2 separate regions of the Homo sapiens genome follow, and region 2 is linked to region 1. The links are contacts of gene promoters, found by promoter capture Hi-C in human tissues and cell types (Jung and others, 2019). All regions are on one chromosome and are shown on one strand. The core of a region is centred on a gene start or on the middle of the fragment in contact, and the rest is flanking DNA. Distances in the headings are between cores, read along the strand shown. Region 1 holds the start of DIP2B (disco interacting protein 2 homolog B). Region 2 overlaps CERS5 (ceramide synthase 5).

Region 1 (6,119 bases), core at 302-2,801:
CAGCACTTTCCTACACATTGGGTTATTAAAAGGGTTATTAAAAATAATTATTTCCTTCAGTGCCCAACAGGATTTATAACATTCAACTCTATTTTTGGTTTTTCATTGTAAAGGATTCTCAGAGGGGAGGGAACCATAATGCCTTAATAAGTAAACAATAAGTAATGTTTAATAAGCTCCTGGGAGTTGGTCACATTCTTCTTTTCCAATCAAGAGTTTTTGATCCACTTGAAAAATGCTAGTGAAGAGGGCCTTCCACAAGGAACTCAGTAAGAATATGCAACTCTGGAGACACAATCAAAGTACTGGTATCAAGCTTGGAGAAAATGCTGCTTTTGTCTCAGGGGCAGCCAGTGATAAAAACAGGAACTTTACACAGAACTGATCACAACTGCCCCAGAAGCCTGATCACATGCCCACAACGGAGCACTGTGTTTCTCTCATTGTTGTACAAGGAGTTCTCTAATAACAGTGGCTTGATTTATCCCATTTTTTTTTTTTAATTCTGAAAATAAATCGAACCCTCCCTGTCCCAATCCATTGTCAAAAGAAAGAATGCCAGCCAGGATTTGCAAGTAAACGGTAGCCTCCTCTCCTTCCTTCATCAAAGACTCCAAAAGGTGACCAGATGCGGAAAATTCGGCCCGAATAACAGGCACCAGGAAAAAAAAAAACTTCTTATGACAAAGGTGGTCTAAAAGCAGCACCGTGTGTCTCTCTGGGTTAATGCCATTGCTTCTTATCTTCCTAGGACCCTAAATGGCTCACCCGCTTGTGTCTCACTCCTGTCACTGGGGAGGCATCGCGCATTGTTAAAGGAAAGAGAAGAAATGATGCTGCGGATTTCCCATGTGTCTCTTTTTGAAAGGGGGAAGGGGGGGCTGGAACAAGGCGTGGAGCCCTCCACGAAAAGGGGAGAGGAAAGGAGAAAGCTGTCAGCCACCCTCCTCGCAGCCCTACCCCTCACCCCACCTGGGCCAGACGCCTGGGCAGAAGCGGGAGGGCGCAGCTTTGTCTCGGGTTTTGGGGGGCAGGAAGCGCAGAAGCAGTGTGGGCCCGGGAGGACCTTTCCACAAGCCCTTACTTAGTCCCCTCCATGGGAAAACAATGAAAGCCACAGGAAACCACTTAATGGGGTGGGAGAGGAGGGAAAACGGTCGTGGAGCGCCAGGCCAGGTTCTCTACACCCTCGTCCCCCTCGCCGCACGGCCGCCAGAGCGCGCGGCGGGGACCTGTCTCCCAAGTCGCCGCGATCCGCAGGGCCCCGGGCGCCCTCTCCCCGGCCCGGCTCCTACCCTCCGAGAGCTCCAGCTCCAGCTCCGCCAGCTGCGCCCGCACTTCAGGCGGCAGCGCCGCCACCGCGGCCGGCGACGGCTCCAGGCCTCGTTCCGCCATCCCAGCTCCGCCAGCCACACTCCGGAAGACAAGAGAGGGGGCCGAAGGAGGGACGGACAGACACGGGCCCACACCCGGCTACAGGATCCGGCTCCGGCCGCCGAGCACCACCAGCACCGCCGCCGCCGCCGCCGCCGCCATGAGCAAAGGTCACGTGAGCGCGACGGCCCCCGCCCCCCGGCCAGGAGGACGCACCGCCTCTCCAGCCCAGTCAGGCTGAAGACGCATATGCTTACGGCGCCCTCTACTGGGAAGCTACCAGAACGACGGGCCCAAGCCCACCACTCGAATTTCCCTGCGCGAAATGGGCTCATGGTATGGACTGTCGGCTTTACCACAGTAGTGTGGACACATAGCATTTACCTTTCACTCTCGAGCAAGTTTTTAGGGGTCCCAGGCCTTACTTTTTCCAATACTAGACTTAGCAATGTATGTCTATCGTGTCCTTTACTCCATTTTCCCTGATTAATACCTGCCCATTTATAAAAACCTAATCACAGGCCACCTCCTTCGCTGTGGCTCCTGGTCCTATCTGCCAGGAGCTCTGTTTCCGTTTCAGTTTTAGCTTTTAAAAAGACAGGCGCGGTGGCTCTCGCCTGTAATCCTAGCACTTTGGGAGGCTGAGGCTGGTGGATCACCTGAGGTTAAGAGTACCAGGCTAGCCGACCGGGCGCGGTGGCTCACGCCTGTAATCCCAGCACTTTGGGAGGCCGAGACGGGTGGATCACGAAGTCAGGAGATCGAGACCATCCTGGCTGACACGGTGAAACCCCGTCTCTACTAAAAGTACAAAAAATTAGCCGGGCGTGGTGGCGGGCGCCTGTAGTCCCAGCTACTCGGGAGGCTGAGGCAGGAGAATGGCGTGAACCCGGGAGGCGGAGCTTGCAGTGAGCCAAGATCACGCCACTGCACTCCAGCCTGAGCGTGAGCGCGAGACTCCGACTCAAAAAAAAAAAAAAAAGAGTACTAGGCCAGCCTGGCCAACATGGTGAAACCCCGTCTCCAATAAAAATACAAAAATTAGCCGGGCGTGGTGGCGGATGCCTGTACTCCTAGCTACTCAAGAGGCTGAGGCAGGAGAATCACTTGAACCCAGGAGGCAGAGGTTACAGTAAGCTGAGATCGCGTCATTGCACTCCAGCCCGGGCAAGAGAGCAAACACTCCGTCTAAAGAAAAGAAAAAGACAATAGAGAGCAGGTCCACTTCTTTCTTTCTATACTTCTAACTACTTACAAGGAGGGAACTTACTTTAACTCATCCTCCTCACTCTGTGGCCTAATAGGTGTTCCAAAAACATTAATTTTAATTTAATATGAAGAGGGTCCAAGGCTAGGTGCAGTGGCTCACACCTATGATCCCAGCACTTTGGGAGGCCAAGGTGGGCGGATCACCTGAGGTCAAGAGTTCGAGACCAGCCTGGCCAACATGGCGAAACCCCGTCTCTACTAAAAACACAAAAATTAGCCGGGAGTAGTGGCACATGCCTGTAATCCCAGCTACCTGGGGGAGCTGAGGTAGGAACGTCGCTTGAACCCGGGAGGCCAAGGTTACAGTGAGCTGAGAACATGGCGGCTGCGCTCCAGCCTGGGCAACGCAGTGAAACTGTTTCAAAAAAAAAAAAAAAAGTCAAGGCCGGGCGTGGTCGCTCACATCTGTAATCCCAGCACTTTGGGAGGCCGAGGCAGGCAGATCACCTGAGGTCAGGAGTTGGAGATCAGCCTGACCAGTATGGTGAAACCCCGCGTCTACTAAAAATACAAAAATTAGCTGGGCATGGTGGCATGTGCCTGTAATCCCAGCTACTCGGGAGGCTGAGACAGGAGAATCGCTTGAACCCGGGAAGTGGAGGTTGCGGTAAGCCCAGATTGCACCACTGCATTCCAGCCTGGGCAACAAGAGCGAAACTCCGTCTCAAAAAAAAAAAAAAAAAAAAAGGAAAAACTGGATGAAGCATACACAGGAATTATCTGTACTATCTTTGCAACTTTTCAGTAAATTTAAAACCATTCTAAAGTAAAACATTTATTTAAAATTATAGAAGCTTAGAACAAACTTGAGAGATCCTCCTACCTCAGCCTCTCAAAGTGCTGGGATTACAGGCATAAGCCACCTCATCCAGCCTTTACTGCATTCTTCCACCAAATTATTCTACCTTTTTGCTAGATTATTCCTTATATTCTCTTTATTTCTAATTGTTTATTCTTTACCTTAATCTTTTTGTCTAGATATTATTGTTGTACCAGCCTTTTTAATTACTACTTGCTGACTTTTTTTAGTCTTTTATTTTCAACTTTTGTCTGTGACTCTGGTTGTAACAAATTAATTAAATCCATTTAAGTTCATTTAATATAATTACTGATATATTAGGACTTATTTCTTCATTCTTGTTAAATGTTTTCTGTTTATCAATCTCTGTCTTTGCTTTCTTCCCCCCCTTTTTCTCCTATTGTTGAATTAGTAAAGTGTTAGATAGTACTTCTTTGTTCTTCTGGTTTGGAAGGTACAGATTATACTGCTATTCTTTCTGTGACTATTTTAAAAGTTTAACATTAAATTTTTCTCCGAGGCCAGGTGTGGTGGCTCATGCTTTTGGAGAAAAACTTTTAAAAATTAACAAACAAAAATATACTATGTTTATACTGTGTCACCGTTTTTTTTTTTTTTAGACAGAGTCTCGCTCTGTCACCCAGGCTAGAGTGCAGTGGCGCAATTTCAGCTTACTACAACCTCTGCCTCCCGGGTTCAAGCGGTTTTCCTGCCTCAGCCTCCCAAGTAGCTGTGATTACAGGCACCGGCCACCATGCCCGGCTAATTTTTGTATTTTTAGTATTTTTAGTAGAAATGTGGTTTCACCATGTTGGCCAGGCTGGTCTCGAACTCCTGACCTCAAGTGATCCACTGGCCTCAGCCTCCCAAACTTCTGGGATTACAGGCGTGAGCCACCGCACCAGCACCTTTACCAGTGCTGTTTATTTCTTCGTGTGAACTCAGGCTATTGTCTAATAATCTTTCATTTCAGGCTGAATGGCTCACATTGCGGGGCAAGTGACAAATTCAGTTGTTGTTTATCTAGGAATGTCTGCATTCTCCATCATTTTTCTTTTTTTCTTTTTTTTTCTTTTTTTTTTTTTTTTTTTTTTTTGAGACGGGGTCTTGCCCTGTCACTCAGGCTGGGGTGCAGTGGCACCATGTTGGCTTGCTGCAACTTCAATCTCCTGGGCTTAAGTAATCCTCCCACCTCAGCCTCCCAAGTATCTGGGATTATAAATTCATGCCTCTACACTCGGCTGATTTTTTACTTTTTTGTAGACATGAGGTCTCACTGTGTTGCCCAGGCTGGTCTCAAACTCGGGCTCAAGTGATCCTCTCCTCGGCCTCTCAAAGTGCTGAGATTACAGGCATGAGCCACCACACCTGGCCTCTCCTTCATTTTTGAGGTATAGTTTTGTGGATATGGAATTGTTGGTTGACAATTTTTTTTAGCATTTTGAATGTCTTTCCACTGCCTTCTGGGCTCCATGGTTTCTTTTTTATTATTATTATTTTTGAGATGGAGTTTCGCTCCTGTTGCCCAGGCTAGAGTGCAATGGCAAGATCTCGGCTCACTGCAACCTCTGCCTCCCAGGTTCAAGTAATTCTCCTGCCTCAGCCTCCCGAGTAGCTGGGATTACAGGCATGCCCCACCACGCCTGGCTAATATTGTATTTTTAGTAGAGATGGGTTTTCTCCATGTTGGTCAGGCTGGTCTCAAACTCCCAACCTCAGGTGATACACCAACCTCGGCCTCCCAAAGTGCTGGGATTATAGGCGTGAGCCACCATGCCCAGCTGGGCTCCATGGTTTCTGATGAGAAGTCAGTTATTAATTTTGCTGAGGATCCCTTATACATGATGAGTTGCCTTTTTTTTTTTTTTTTTTTTGCTGTATTCAATGTTCTCTCTTTGTTTTTGTCTTTTGGCAGTTTGACCATAATGTGCCTAGGTGTGGATCTCTTTGAGTTTATTCTTCTTGGAGTTAACTGACCTTGAATGTGCACATTAATATTCTTTATCAAATTTGAGAAGTTTTCAGGGATTATTTCTTCAAATAAGCATTTTTTTTCCTTTAGAGACAGAGTCTCACTGTCAGCCAGTCTTCAGTGCAGTGGCACAATCATAGCTCACTGCAGCCTCAACCTCCCGGACTCAAGCCTGACTAATGTTTTTACTTTTTGTGGGGACAGGGGTCTCCCTATGTTGCCCAAGCTGTTCTCAAACTCTTGGGCTTAAGCAATCCTCCCACCTTGGCCTCTCAAGGTGCTAGGATTACAAATATGAACCACTCTGCCCAGCCTCTAAACACTGTTTTAAATACAAAGAAATAGTTCTTGTTTCTGCATGTCATAGCTTTGTAAGTTTACCTTTTTCTATTTTATCTAATATTGATGTATACATAGGAGAAAGGGTACTTCAGAACATGAATTTTAGAGCAATCTACCAAGTCTCATGATTACAATAGTTGAAAATTTGGAAAAATTGTCTACCCAGAAAATGCAACAGAATCAACTAAAATAACATTATTCATTCATTAAAATAAATATTAATGGCTGGGCTCAGTGGCTCAAACCTGTAATCCCAGCACTTTAGGAGGCCAAGGCGGGCAGATCACAAGGTCAGGAGTTCAAGACCAGCCTGGCCAACATGGTAAAAACCCCATCTCTACTAAAAATACAAAAATTAGCTGG
Region 2 (6,277 bases), core at 601-3,100, 350 kb after region 1:
TTTTGGGGAATGACCTTCAGATTGGGCTCTGTTTATGGACTTGTCTCCCCCATGAAACTGTAGGTATCTAATGCAGTGCTTTGTACATTCATATTAGCTATTCAGTAAGTGTTTATTGAATGAATCACTCTGAAACCTACTTCTGCTTGAGATGTTGCGACTCTAGTACAGTAATTACTGTTTTTTTTTCTAATTTTCCTTCCTAAGAGACGGAATCTTGCTATATTACTGTATCAGTCAGGGTTCTCTAGAGGGACAGAACTAATAGGATGGATATATATATGAAGGGTAGTTTATTAAGTATTAACTCACACTATCACAAGGTCCCACAATAGGCCGTCTGCACACTGAGGAGCAAGGAAAGCCAGTCCAAGTCCCAAAACTGAAGAGCTTGGAGTCCGATGTTTGAGGGGAGGAAGAGTCCAGCACAAGAGAAAGATGTAGGCTGGGAGGCTAGGCCAGTCTAGTCTTTTCACGTTTTTCTGCCTCTTGCCATGCTGGCAGCTGATTAGATGGTGCCCACCCAGATTAAGGGTGGCTCTGCCTTTCCCAGCCCACTGACTCAAATGTTAATCTCCTTTGGCAACACCCTCACAGACATGTGCAGGATGAGTGTTTTGCATTCTTCAATCCAATTAAGTTGATACTCAGTATTAACCATCACAATTACCCAGGCTGGAATTCAGTGGCCATTCACAGGGCTGATGTCACTACAGCCTTGACCTCCTGGCCTCAATCAGTCCACCTGCCTCAGCCTCCATGGTAGCTGGAACTACAGGCCCAGCTACATAATTTCCTTTTTGACTCCTGAGATTCCTATGCTGTACAGCAGTGGGTTCTCAAATCTTTTGCTCAGGACTCCTTTATATTTTAAAAAATTATTGAAGACCCCAAATAGCTTTTGTTTATATGAGTTATATCTATCAATATTTTCTCTATTAAAAACTAATACTGATAAATTTTTTAAGTATGTATTAAGCTTCACTCTGTCAGCCACGCTGGAATGCAATGGCATGATCATGACTCACTACAGCCTCCACCTCTTGGCTCAAACAATCCTCCCACCTCAGCCTCCCAGTAGCTGGGACCAGAGGTGCATGCCACCACACCTGGCTACTAATTGTTTTATATATATATATATATAGTTTGTTTGTTTGTTTTGAGACAGAGTCTTGCTCTGTCACCCAGGCTGGAGTGCAGTGGCGTGATGTTGGCTCACTGCAAGCTCTGCCTCCCAGGTTCACGCCATTCTCCTGCCTTGGCCTCCCCAGCAGCTGGGACTACAGGCGCACGCTGCCACACCCGGCTAATTTTTTTTTGTATTTTTAGTAGAGACGGGGTTTTACCGTGTTAGTCAGGATGGTCTCGATCTCCTGACCTTGTGATCCACCCGCCTCAGCCTCCCAAAGTGCTGGGATTACAGGCGTGAGCCACCACGGCCGGCCTTTTTTTTTTTTTTTTTTTTGAGACAGAATGTCGCTCTGTCGCCCAGGCTGGAGTGCAGTGGCGCGATCTCAGCTCACTGCAACCTCTGCTTCCCAGGTTTAAGCAGTTCTCCTGCCTCAGCCTCCGAGTAGCTGGGACTGCAGGTGTGCCACCACACCCAGCTAATTTTTGTATTTTTAGTAGAGACGGGGTTTCACCATATTGGTCAGGCTGGTCTCAAACTCCTGACCACAGGTGATCCACCCGCCTTGGCCTCCCAAAGTGCTGGGGATTACAGGCGTGAGCCACCATGCCCGGCCACTAATTGTTATATTTTTTGTAGAGACAAGATTTCATCATGTTACCCAGGCTGGGCCTTTTTTTTTTTTTTTTTTTTTTTTTTGAGATGGAGTCTCGCTCTGTCGCCCAGGCTGGAGTGCAGTGGCGCAATCTCGGCTCACTGCAAGCTCTGCCTCCCGGGTTCACGCCATTCTCCTGCCTCAGCCTCCCGAGTAGCTGTGACTACAGGCGCCTGCCACCACGCCTGGCTAATTTTTTTGTATTTTTAGTAGAAATGGGGTTTCACCCTGTTAGCCAGGATGGTCTCGATCTCTTGACCTCGTGATCCACCTGCCTCAGCCTCCCAAAGTGCTGGGATTACAGGCCTGAGTCACCGTGCCTGGCAATTTTTTTTTTTAATGGCCCTCAAAGGAAGCTGCAAAGATCACTTGAGCACAGACCATGCAAGAAATGTTGGGTTTGGTGGTATAGGTATCTTGAAAAGTGCAATACCTTGTATACAAGGAATCCTCTTCTTTTAAGAATTTACTCAGAAGAATACATTGTAACTTTTTGTTCTCAGGGATTGTTTTTCACTTTTAAAAATTACTGAGGACTCCAAGGAGCTTTTGTTTATGTGGGTTACATATACCCATCAACTTTACCATATTTTAAATTAAAATTGAGAAATTTAAGAAATGCTGACCGGGCACGATGGCTCACCCCTATAATCCCAGCACTTTGGGAGGCCTAGGTGGGTGGATCACCTGAGGTCAGGAGTTCAAGACCAGCCTGGCCAACACGGTGAAACCCCGTCTCTACTAAAAATGCAAAAATTAACCAGGCATGGTGGTGCACGCCTATAGTCCCAGCTACTTGGGCAGCTGAGGCAGGAGAATCACTTGAACCTGAGAGCAGAGGTTGCAGTGAGCCAAGATAGCGCCACTGCACTCCAGCCTGGGTGACGGAGCGAAACTCTGTCTCAAAAAGAAATTTAAGAAATGCTTATTAATTCATTAAAAATAACAACAGGCCAGGTGCAGGGGTTCACACTTGTAATCCCAGCACTTAGGGAGGCAGAGACAGGAGGATAGCTTGAGCTCAGGAGCTCAAGACCTGTGTGGGTAACATAGCAAGACCTCGTTCTCCACAAAAAGGGAGAAAATAGACAAAAAATAATAATAAATTGATTTACATGTTAACATAAATAAGCTTTTTGAAAAATATTATTTTCCAAAAGAAAAAATAGAAGAACAGCATTGATTTTACATTTTTGCAAATCTCTTTAATATCTGGCTTAATAGAAGACAGCTGGATTATCCTAGCAGCTTCTGCATTCAATCTCTTGTGATACATTGTTTTGATTGAAGTATATGAAGAAAAGATGGCCTCACACAGCTTTGTCATTGAAAAGCAGGAAGTATTTTAATAGCCCTTTCAAATAATTTGATATTTATCTTTGATACTACACCAAAACACAAGTAGCAGTTTTTTGTTTTGTTTTGTCTTGTTTTGAGACGGAGTCTTGCTCTGTTCCCAGGCTGGAGTGTAGTGGCGCGATCTCACTGCAACCTTCGACTCCCTGGTTCAAGCGATTCTCCTGCCTCAGCCTCCCGAGTAGCTAGGATTACAGGCATGTGCCACCGCACCCAGCTAAGTTTTGCATTTTTAGTAGAGATGGGGTTTCACCATGTTGGCCAGGATGGTCTAGATCTCTTGACCTCGTGATCTGCCTGCCTCGGCCTCCCAAAGTGCTGGGATTACAGGCGTGCCACGCCCAGCCACAAGTAGCAGTTTCTTAAACGTTGATTCCTAGGTAGAATCTGAAGCCATATTAATGAGCTTTTCATTTTATTATGTTAAAATCCATTGTTCTATGTTCATTGTGTTTTGTTGTTGTTGTTTTGAGGTGGTGTTTTGCTCTTGTCGCCCAGGCTGGAGTCCAATGGTGCAGTCACAGCTCACTGCAACCTCTGCCTCCCAGGTTCAAATGATTCTCCTGCCTCAGCCTTCCAAGTAGCTGGGATTATGGGTATGCGCCATCACGCCCAGTTAATTTTGTATTTTTAGTGGAGATGGGGTTTCACCATATTGGCCAGGCTGGTCTCAAACTCCTGACCTCAGGTGATCCGCCTGCCTCAGCCTCCCAAAGTGCTGGGATTATAGGCGTGAGCCACCATGCCTGGCCTATATTACAGTTTGAATGGACATCATGTATCCATCATTTGGAAAATACTGGTTCATTCAGTTATGCAAATGTCCCACATGTCAATATGTGACATTATACAATATTTTAAAATCTTGCCTGTAATCCCAGCACTTTGGGAGGCCGAGGTGGGCGCATCACAAGGTCAAGAGATTGAGAGCATCCTGGCCAACATGGTGAAACCCCGTCTCTACTAAAAATACAAAAATTAGCTGGACGTGGTGGTGCATGCCTCTAGTCCCAGCTACTCGGGAGGCTGAGGCAGGAGAATCGCTTGAACCCAGGAGGCAGAGGTTGCAGTGAGCCAAGATCATGCCACGGGACTCCAGCCTGGCAACAGAGTGAGACTCCGTCTCAGAAAAAAAAAAAAAAAAAAAAAAAAAAATCATATTAGTTTATCTCATTATAACCAATCTCATCAGAAAAGTCTTAAGTATTGAGAAGTTGTCAGGCTGAAAGGCAGGTAAAAGTTTTCTAAACATTCTAAGTTTCACTTGAAAGCTTGAATTTTATCATTGGCAACAATGCTTTTCTTGAAATGACGGGCTCACTTATTATAGTTATTACTATTATTATTATTATTTTGAGACAAAGTCTTGCTCTGTCGCCCAGGCTGGAGTGCAGTGGCAGGATCTCAGCTCACTACAACCTCTGCCTTCTGGGTTCAAGCAATTCTCCTGCCTCAGCCTCCCGAGTAGCTGGGATTACAGGCGGCCGCCACCACGCCTGGCTAATATTTATATTTTTAGTAGAGATGGGGTTTTACTGTGTTGGCCAGGCTGGTCTCAAACTCCTGACCTCAGGTGATCCGCCCGCCTCCGCCTCCCAAAGTGCTGGGATTACAGGCATGAGCCACTGCGTCTGGCCTCATTTATTTTTGAGAAAGTTTTTGCTAAATACTCAGAGCTGACTAACGTTAGTCTGTCAGTCCTTTCAGGTAAAAGTGGTATTCTATGGAAAAAGCGACTTAGTTTATTCAGCTTGCAGTAGTCATACAAATGGTTTTCCTTGGGAGCCATATACTTTGGTATGCATCAGAAGTGCTTTTTGGGTACATCCATTTTATCACAGAATAAGTGGAGACTGGGTTTCACCATGTTGGCCAGGGTGGTCTCGAACTCCTGACCTCAAGTGATCCGCTTGCCTCAGCCTCCTAAAGTGCTGGGATTACAGGCATAAGCCACTGTGCCCAATCACAGAATACTTTTAAAAAATATATTCAAGGGTCAAGATTTAATAAAAGTAATAATTTGTAGTGCTTCATCAAGGACATTCTTAAGCAAAACTGGCATGTTTTAAAAATTGAGAAGACCTAGCTCTACAGTATAGTAACTACTAGTATGGTTTGGTGTCACTACCTTGATTTGGTCTAAAGTACCATAATGTTTTACCTACCATTGATTTGCACAATCACTGCAAATGTCAACACAGTGAAAAAGGCAAATAATAATATTGTTATGAAAATAGTTTAGTTTGTAGAGCCCCTGAGAGTGCCTCAGGAACCCTCAGGGATCTGCAGTCCATACCTTGAGACCCTCTACCATAACTGAATGAGGTTACTGAGGGTGAGCGTGTAGAGTACGAAAAGAACCTCTAAGTGAACCCTGAGGAAACACCATGTTTCAGGAAAAGGCAGAGGAAAAATAAACTGCAAAGGAGATAGAGGAATGACAGCCATACGTTATTTGATAATATTAGTAGTTGGTATAGGCCGCGCACGGCGACTCACGCCTGTAATCCCAACACTTTGGGAGGCCGAGGTGGGTGAATCCACTAGAGGCCAGGAGTTCGGGACCAGCCTGGCCAGCATGGTGAAACCCGTGTCTACTAAAAATACAAAAGTTAGCCAGGTGTGGTGGTGGGCACTTGTAATCCCAGCTACTCGGGAGGCTGAGGCAGAATCGAACCTGGGAGGTGGAGGTTGCAGTGAGCCAAGATTGTGCCATTGCACTCCAGCCCAGGTGACAGAGGGAGACTCCATCTCAAAGTGGGTGTTTAATAAGTGTTTACTTTGTCCTAGGCATTGTTCTAAGTGCTAAGCTTGAATCCTCTTTAGTAAGTTTATGAGGTAGGTAGGCATTACTGTTATCCTCATTTTACAGATGAGAGAACTGAAGCACAGAGGAACTTGTCCAAGGTGACTCAACTAGCAGTGCTTACCAGGCAGTCTAGTTCCACTGCCAAAGAGGTAGAGGGAGAAGACTAGGAAGAGTGGCAGTAAGGAAGAGAAAAGGGCATTTCAAGAAGGAGATTAGTCATTAATGTATTTGGTTGGTGCAAAAGTAATTGTGGTTTTTGCCATTAAAAGTAATGGGAATTACTTTTGCACCAACCTAATAAAATGCTGCTGAAAGGTCAAGTAAGATA

Evidence for each region. Contacts are between HindIII fragments. The study calls those that stand out against the background at their distance.
Region 2: a contact is called between a fragment that was not itself captured here and the fragment with the promoter of DIP2B in region 1, in 1 of the 25 tissues and cell types used here (hippocampus).

The regions. Positions count from the first base shown.
Region 1 is chr12:50,500,417-50,506,535 of GRCh38, reverse strand. DIP2B (disco interacting protein 2 homolog B) reads right to left here and starts at 1,551. Exons shown (of 38, transcript NM_173602.3): 1 at 1,296-1,551. The coding sequence starts at 1,395. RefSeq lists a silencer at 1,139-1,248. The HindIII fragment of the contact is 9,488 bases long and covers 1-6,119 here.
Region 2 is chr12:50,151,288-50,157,564 of GRCh38, reverse strand. All of the region lies in intron 1 of CERS5 (ceramide synthase 5), which reads left to right. The region is part of intron 1 of LOC124902931 (a long non-coding RNA gene); the gene reads right to left. Among named protein-coding and RNA genes, the nearest start is that of CERS5, 13 kb to the left of the region's middle. The HindIII fragment of the contact is 3,628 bases long and covers 37-3,664 here.